Linked DNA regions of Homo sapiens: all the other regions are linked to region 3. The links are contacts of gene promoters, found by promoter capture Hi-C in human tissues and cell types (Jung and others, 2019). All regions are on one chromosome and are shown on one strand. The core of a region is centred on a gene start or on the middle of the fragment in contact, and the rest is flanking DNA. Distances in the headings are between cores, read along the strand shown. Region 1 has its middle 17 kb from the start of ZNF700. Region 2 has its middle 53 kb from the start of ZNF44. Region 3 holds the start of ZNF878 (zinc finger protein 878).

Region 1 (2,741 bases), core at 52-2,551, 140 kb after region 3:
CATCTATTCAGATAATCTTGTGGTTTTTGTCTTTGGTTCTGTTTATATGATGGATTACGTTTATTGCTTTGCATATGTTGAATCAGCCTTGCATCCCAGGGATGAAGCCAACTTGATCGTGGTGGATAAGCTTTTTGATGTGCTGCTGGATTTGGTTTGCCAGTATTTTATTGAGGATTTTTGCATCGATGTTCATCAGGTATATTGGTCTAAAATTCTTTTTGTTGTGTCTCTGCCAGGCTTTGGTATCAGGATGTTGCTGGCCTCATAAAATGAGTTAGGGAGGATTCCCTCTTTTTCTATTGATTGGAATAGTTTAAGAAGGAATGGTACTAGCTCCTCTTTGTACCTCTGGTAGAATTCAGCTGTGAATCCATCTGGTCCTTGACTTTTTTTGGTTGGTAGTCTATTAATTATTGCCTCAATTTCAGAGCCTGTTATTGGTCTATTCAGGGATTCGACTTCTTCCTGGTTTAGTCTTGGGAGGGTGTATGTGTCCAGGAATTTATCCATTTCTTCTAGATTTTCTAGTTTATTTCCATAGAGGTATTTATAGTACTCTCTGATGGTAGTTTGTATTTCTGTGGGATCGGTGGTGATATCCCCTTTATCATTTTTTATTGCATCTATTTGATTCTTCTCTCTTTTCTTCTTTATTAGTCTTGCTGGCGGTCTATCAATTTTGTTGATCTTTTCAAAAAAACAGCTCCTGGATTCACTGATTTTTTGAAGGGTTTTTTCTGTCTCTGTCTCCTTCAGTTCTGCTCTGATCTTAGTTATTTCTTGCCTTCTGCTAGCTTTTGAATGTGTTTGCTCTTGCCTCTCTAGTTCTTTTAATTGTGATGTTAGGGTGTCAATTTTACATCTTTCCTGCTTTCTCCTGTGGGCATTTAGTGCTATAAATTTCCCTCTACAAACTGCTTTAAATGTGTCCCAGAGATTCTGGTATGTTGTGTCTTTGTTCTCATTGGTTTCAAAGAACATCTTTATTTCTGCCTTCATTTGTTATGTACCCAGTAGTCATTCAGGAGCAGGTTGTTCAGTTTCCATGTATTTGAGTGGTTTAGAGTGAGTTTCTTAATCCTGAGTTCTAGTTTGATTGCTCTGTGGTCCGAGAGACAGTTTGTTATAATTTCTATTCTTCTACATTTGCTGAGGAGTGCTTTACTTCCAACTATGTGGTCAATTTTGGAATAAGTGTGATGTGGTGCTGAGAAGAATGTATATTCTGTTGATTTGGGGTGGAGAGTTCTGTAGATGTCTATTAGGTCCTCTTGGTGCAGAGCTGAGTTCAATTCCTGTATATCCTTGTTAACTTTCTGTCTCATTGATCTGTCTAATGTTGACAGTGGGATGTTAAAGTCTCCCATTATTATTGTGTGGGAGTCTAAGTCTCTTTGTAGGTCTCTAAGGACTTGCTTTATGCATCTCAGTGCTCCTGTATTGGGTGCATAAATATTTAGGATAGTTAGCTCTTCTTGTTGAATTGATCCCTTTACCTTTATGTAATGGCCTTGTCTCTTTTGATCTTTGTTGGTTTAAAGTCTGTTTTATCAGAGACTAGGATTGCAACCCCTGCTTTTTTTGTTTGTTTTCCATTTGCTTGGTAGATCTTCCTCCATCCCTTTATTTTGAGCCTATGTATGTCTCTGCACGTGAGATGGGTCTCCTGAATACAGCACACTGATGGGTCTTGATTCTTTATCCAATTTGCCAGTCTGTGTCTTTTAATTGGAGCATTTAGCCCATTTACATTGAAGGTTAATATTGTTATGTGTGAATTTGATCCAGTCATTATGATGTTAACTGGTTATTTTGCTCGTTAGTTGATACAGTTTCTTCCTAGCCTCAATGGTCTTTACAATTTGGCATGTTTTTGCAGTGGCTGGTACCGGTTGTTCCTTTCCATGTTTAGTGCTTCCTTCAGGAGATCTTTTACAGCAGGCCTGGTGGTGACAAAATCTCTCAGCATTTGAATCTGTAAAGGATTTTATTTCTCCTTCACTTATGAAGCTTAGTATGGCTGGATATGAAATTCTGGGTTGAAAATTCTTTCCTTTAAGAATGTTGAATATTGGCCCCCACTCTTTTCTGGCTTGTAGAGTTTCTGCCAAGAGATCCGCTGTTAGTCTGACGGGCTTCCCTTTGTGGGTAACCCGACCTTTCTCTCTGGCTGCCCTTAACATTTTTTCCTTCATTTCAACTTTGGTGAATCTGACAATTATGTGTCTTGGAGTTGCTCCTCTCGAGGAGTATCTTTGTGGCGTTCTCTGTATTTCCTGAATTTGAATGTTGGTCTGCCTTGCTAGGTTGGGGAAGTTCTCCTGAATAATATCCTGAAGAGTGTTTCCCAACTTGGTTCCATCCCTGTCACTTTCAGGTACACCAATCAGACATAGATTTGGTCTTTTCACATAGTCCCATATTTCTTGGAGGCTTTTTCATTTCTTTTTACTCTTTTTTCTCTAAACTTCTCTTCTCACTTCATTTCATCCATTTGATCTTCAATTACTGATACCTTTTCTTCCACTTGATTGAATCAGCTACTGAAGCTTGTGCATGCATCACATAGTTCTCGTGCCATGGTTTTCAGCTCCATCGGGTCATTTAAGGTCTTCTCTACACTGTTTATTCTAGTTAGCCATTTTGTCTAATCTTTTTTCAAGGTTTTTAGCTTCTTTGTGATGGGTTCGAACATCCTCCTTTAGCTTGGAGAAGTTTGTTATTACCGATCATCTGAA
Region 2 (2,700 bases), core at 1-2,500, 190 kb before region 3:
CAATAGTCAACATATGGAAACAAACTTAGCATCCATTAATGGATGAATAAAGAAAGTGTGATGTATATTTAAACAGAATATTACTCAGCCGTAAAAAGGAAATCCTGACATTTGTCACATGAATAAACCTGGTGGACACTATAAAATAAGGCAGACATAGGCAAATACTTCATGATCCCACTTAATTGTGGAATATTAAAAACTTAAACTCCGAGGCAGAGGGAGGAACGGTGGTTACTAGAGTCCAGAAGGTAGGGAAAATGGAGAAATGTTGGTCAAAGGTTAAAAACCAAGTTGTAAGGTGAACACGTTCTGGAGATTTAATGTACAGCATGGGTGGTCATCAATGTGTTAATTTGACTGTGGTAACCATTACAGAATGTATATATATACATCAAAACATAACTGTACATCATGAACATATACAATCTTTGTGAAGTATTTTAAAATAAAAAAGGAATGTTTACTGAATCTACGCCTGTTGGATCTTTGTATTACTGAGAAGTGTTGAAGTCTTCAGTTAACTGTGAATTTTTCTGTGTCACCTTGCAGTTCTGTGTGTTCTTGCATGACGTATTTTGGCAATTTGTTAAGTGCATGTATTTAAAATTATGTCATTTCTATTGCTGGGTCTTAATTTCTTCCTGAAATATCTGATCTGGTTATTCAATCCAGTGCATATTTTATACCAGGCATTGTTGTTTTCCTTTCTAGTAGCTCAAATTGTGTCTTTAGTTTTTAATTTTTTTTCTTTCAGACAGGGTCTCCCTGTCACCCAGGCTGGAGTTCAGTAGTGTTCTCTTGGCTCACTGAAACTGCTGCCTCCCAAGCAAATGATCCTCCCACCTCAGCCTCCTGAATAGCTGGGACTACAGGTGCACACTACCATGCCCAGGTAATTTTTTAAATCATATTTTTTTTTTTTTTTTTTTTTGGAGAGACAAGGTCTTACTATATAGGTCTTACTATATTGCCCAGACAGGTTTCCTGGGCTCAAGGGATCTTCCTGCCTTGGCCTCTCGAAGTGCTGGGATTACAGGTGTGAGCCGTGTGCCAATGTGCCTGGCCAGTTTTTAATTTTTTTTTTTTTTTGAGCCGGAGTCTCGCTCTGTCACCCAGGCTGGAGTGCAGTAGTGCAATCTCGGCTCACTGCAAGCTCCGCCTCCCAGGTTCACGCTATTCTCCTGCCTCAGCCTCCCGAGTAGCTAGGACTACAGGTGCCCACCACCACGCCCGGCTAATTTTTTGTATTTTTAGTAGAGACAGGGTTTCACTGTGTTAGCCAGGATGGTCCTTGAACTCCTGACCTCATGTGATCTGCCCACCTCGGCCTCCCAAAGTGCTGGGATTACAGGCGTGAGCCACCGCACCCGGCCTTTAATTTTTTTTAAGGTCAAATATAGTAACATAGAATTTACCATTGTAAGTATGCCATTCAGTAGCATTAAATACATTAACAGTGCTTTAGAACCATCACAGCTAGCTAGCTAGTTCCAGAATTTTTTCATTAGTCCAAAAAAAAATTGGTACCCATTAAACAACCATTCCCTATTCCTCCCATCCCCATCCCTTGGTAATCTCTATTTTCCTTTCTTGCTCTATGAATTTGCTGATTCTAGGTGCGTCATGTAAGTAGAAGCATGCAGTATTTGTCCTTATGTGTCTGGCTTATTTCACTTAGCATAATGTTTTCAAGGTTCATCCACATGTTAGCATGTACCAGTAATTCAGTTTTTGTGCCTGAATAATATTCCCAAGTGTGGTATATTGGATACACCACACTTTGTTTATCCATCCATATGTTGAGCACTTGGGTTGTTTCCACAAAACTCTTTTGACTACTCTGAATACTGCTCTAAAATCAGTGCGTATGTGTCTGAGTCCCTGCTTTCCATGGTTGATTGATTGCAACGGAGTCTCGCTCTGTTGCCCAGGCTGGAGTGCAGTGGTGCGATCTTGGCTCACTGAAACCTCCACCTCCCAGGTTCAAGTGTTTCTCCTGTCTCAGCCTCCTGAGTGGCTGTGATTACAGGTGTCTGCCACTATGCCCAGCTAACTTTTTGTATTTTTAGTAGAGACAGGGTTTCACCATGTTGGCCAGGAAGGCTGGTCTTGGACTCCTGACCTCTGGTGATCCACCCACTTTGGCCTCCCAGAGTACTGGGATTACAAGTGTGAGCCACCGTGCCTGGCCTCTATTCTTTTAGATACATACCTAGGAGTGGAATTGCTGGGTCACAGGGTTTTCTATGTTCATGTATAGCCATACTGTTTTTCACAGTGGCTGTGTGTAAAATTCTCCCCAGCAATACACAAGGACTGCAGTTTCTATGCATGCTCACCAACCCTGGTTATATTCTACTTTTTGTTTTAAATGGCAGCCATTCCAACAGTTGTGAACTGTCACTGGTGTTTTGATTTACATTTCCCTAATCACCAGTGGTAATGAGCATTATTCCATGTGGTTGTTGGCCATTTATATATCTTTGTACAAATGTTTTCAAGTCCCTCACTCATTTTTGAATGGGCTCATTGGTTTGTTTTGTTGAGTTGTAGGAGTTCCTATGTATTTTGGGTATTAATCTCTTCCAAGATACGTGATTTGCAAATATGTTCTCATTCTGTATGTTGTCTTTTGGTGCACAAAAGTTTTAAATTTTCATGTAGTTCAGTTTATCTTTTGTTTGCCTGTGCTTTAGA
Region 3 (2,700 bases), core at 187-2,686:
TGGCCCTAATCTATTTACTTATCTTTTTGGTAGAGACCTGGTCTCACTGCGCCCGGCCACTGGTTTTTTGTTTTGTTTTGTTTTGTTTTTTTGAGACACAGTCTTGCTCTGTGGCCCAGGCTGGAGTACAGTGGTGCGATCTCTGCTCACTACAAGCTCCACCTCCCGTGTTCTCGCCATTCTCCTGCCTCAGCCTCCCGAGTAGCTGGGACTACAGGCGCCCACCACCACGCCCGGCTAATTTTTTTTTTGTATTTTTAGTAGAGACGGGGTTTCACCGTATTAGCCAGGATGGTCTCGATCTCCTGACCTCGTGATCCGCCCACCTCGGTCTCCCAAAGTGCTGGGATTACAGGCGTGAGCCACTGCGCCCGGCCAGCGCCCGGCCATTTAAAAAAATTTTAAATAATAAAGACAGGGATCGGCGGGCGAGGTGGCTCACGCCTGTAATCCCAGCACTTTAGGAGGCCGAGGCGGGCGGATCACCTGAGGTCGTGAGTTCGAGACCAGCCTGACCAACATGGAGAAACCCCGTCTCTACTAAAAATACAAAATTAGCGGGGCGTGGTGGCGCATGTCTGTAATCCCAGCTATTTGGGAGGCTGGGGCAGGAGAATCGCTTGAACCTGGGAGGCGGAGGTTGCAGTGAGCCAAGATCTCGTGCCACTGTGCTCCAGCCTGGGCGACAGATCGAGACTGTCTAAAAAAAAAAAAAAAAAAGAAAGAAAGACAGGGATCTCGCTGTGTTGATGATGTTGGCCTCAAACTCCTTGCTTCAAGGGATCCTTCCGCCTCAGTTTGCCAATGTGGTGGGATTATAGACATGAGTCACCATGTGCTACCTCTCTTCAGATTTTAAAGGTGTCAAACTCTCAATAGCTTTTAGATCAGGGAAAGGAAAAGAACGGGGGAGCTGGCAGTGCTTCATTAACGGAGATTCTCTACAAATGTAAATTTCCCCCTCAAAAGACAGTTTTGCAAGGCCACCTTTTGTTTGCTGGCCAAGCAGCAGCCATTTCAAAACTGTCAAAGAAATATATTTTGGCAGGGCAATATCTTGGGGCAAAATATTTTAATGTCTTTCACATTTTGTGGACACTGAATCTGGAATTCCCTGCACACTTGTGTCCCGTGTAGGATGAAGGGGCAGGGACGGCCCACGGAGTGAGGAAGACAACAGTGTCCCTTCTAGCAGTTCGGAGCAAGTTTGGCCGAAGGCAAATATTCGAAGTAAAGGTGGGAGGGAGGGAGGGAGCTGACCTTGGAAAGTGTGGCCAGAACCAGTCGCTTCGGCTCTGCAGCGCCCAGTTACCCGGGGCTTCTGCTGTCACTCAGGGAAGGGGGCGGAGTCTAGACCCCTATCCAATCAGGGGCGCTAGGGCGGGGCCCTGCCACTGTCCTCCAGGGAAGGGGAGGTTGCATTCCCGCTCTCTTCACTCCTAGGGCTGCTCGCGCTAGTTAAGGTCTGGGGCTTTCTTGCTCCGAGAGGGACCAGTTACTTCCGCCGTAGCTGCTGTTGCTCTGTCGACTGCGCTGTGACCTGCACTGTTCACGGGACCTTTAGAGAGGACGCCAGAATACCTGGAAGCCAGGAAATGGTGAGCATGCGGTGCTGGGGAGTCCCAAGGCGAAAGGAGGGACTGGGTGGAACCGAGAGGAACCCGCTGTGGCGGGGCCCGGGCCCCCCTGCAGCGACTCTGGGCTCCAGACACAGTCCCCCTAGCGCAGCTCGGCCCTCGGTCCCCTCGGCCGCTGGGTGGAGCTGGGCCGGCAGCCGGGACCCCGGGCGTCCTGTCCGGTCCCTGCGCGGCGACTGCGGCCCCGGCCCCGGCTCCCTCTCTGAGCAGCTCCGCGCCCGCAGCCCCGCGTCTCCCCAGATTGTGCGGTGACCATGGAAGGGTCATGGGGGATCCTGCCTCGGGTGTGGGGTTCGTGTGGGAGGAGCTGTGGGCTGTGGGGTCCCCAGTTCCTTTTTTTTTCCAGTTAAAAATTAAACTGAGGCACTGTTAAAAAATGAGAGTTTATTTTAGCAAACAGCGATTAATGAATGAGAAACTCCCAGTCCTGGCTTGTGGTTTGGTAACGGAAAAACCCAAATCGTGTAGAATAAGTTTATTCTGAGCCGAATAGGAGAGACCTCGGCTGAGGGAAACACAACCCCGCGAAGTCTGGAGTAAGCAATCCCGAGGCAGCTCCTGACAGTTTGGTTTTATTCATTTCAGGGAGACAGGAATTGCAGGAAAATGATGAATCAGTGCCGGGAAGGTGTAAGTTCCTTTGGCCGAAAGGCGGGACACATGGAAGCGGGGTTAGAAGGCACAGGTGGTGGAGGGATTCTGTAGGTGGCAGTTGGTTGAGAGTGTGTAAAGCTTTGTCTAAAATTTGGAGGCTGTAGGAAGGAGGGCTGTTATCTGCCACGTTATTCCATCCCAGTCCCCGCCCCCTTCCCCAAAAGACCTGTTTTTATTTTACCAGATTTTTATATTTTTGAGACGGAGTCTCGCTCCGTCGCCCCAGGCTGAAGTGCTGTGGCGCCATCTCGGCTCACTGCAACCTCCGCCTCCCGGGTTCAAGCGATTCTCTTGCCTCAGCCTCCCGAGTAGCTGGGACTACAGGCGCCAGCCACCACGCCCGGCTAATTTTTGTATTTTTAGTAGAAACGGGTTTCACCATATTGGCCAGGCTGGTCTTGAACTCCTC

What was found. The method cuts DNA at HindIII sites, captures the fragments that hold promoters and counts their contacts. A contact is called where the count stands out against the background at its distance.
Region 1: a fragment that was not itself captured here is called in contact with the fragment with the promoter of ZNF878 in region 3 in 1 of the 25 tissues and cell types used here (mesenchymal stem cells).
Region 2: a contact is called between a fragment that was not itself captured here and the fragment with the promoter of ZNF878 in region 3, in 1 of the 25 tissues and cell types used here (lymphoblastoid cells).

Annotation. Positions count from the first base shown.
Region 1 is chr19:11,906,849-11,909,589 of GRCh38, reverse strand. It overlaps a transcript of ZNF69 not described here. Among named protein-coding and RNA genes, the nearest start is that of ZNF700, 17 kb to the left of the region's middle. The HindIII fragment of the contact is 5,350 bases long and covers 1-2,741 here.
Region 2 is chr19:12,240,902-12,243,601 of GRCh38, reverse strand. It overlaps a transcript of ZNF44 not described here. Among named protein-coding and RNA genes, the nearest start is that of ZNF44, 53 kb to the left of the region's middle. The HindIII fragment of the contact is 7,661 bases long and covers 1-2,700 here.
Region 3 is chr19:12,051,697-12,054,396 of GRCh38, reverse strand. It overlaps ZNF878 (zinc finger protein 878), which reads left to right and starts at 1,436. Exons shown (of 4, transcript NM_001080404.3): 1 at 1,436-1,598. The coding sequence starts at 1,596. RefSeq lists an enhancer at 1,097-1,602 and a silencer at 1,791-1,840. The HindIII fragment of the contact is 7,236 bases long and covers 1-2,700 here.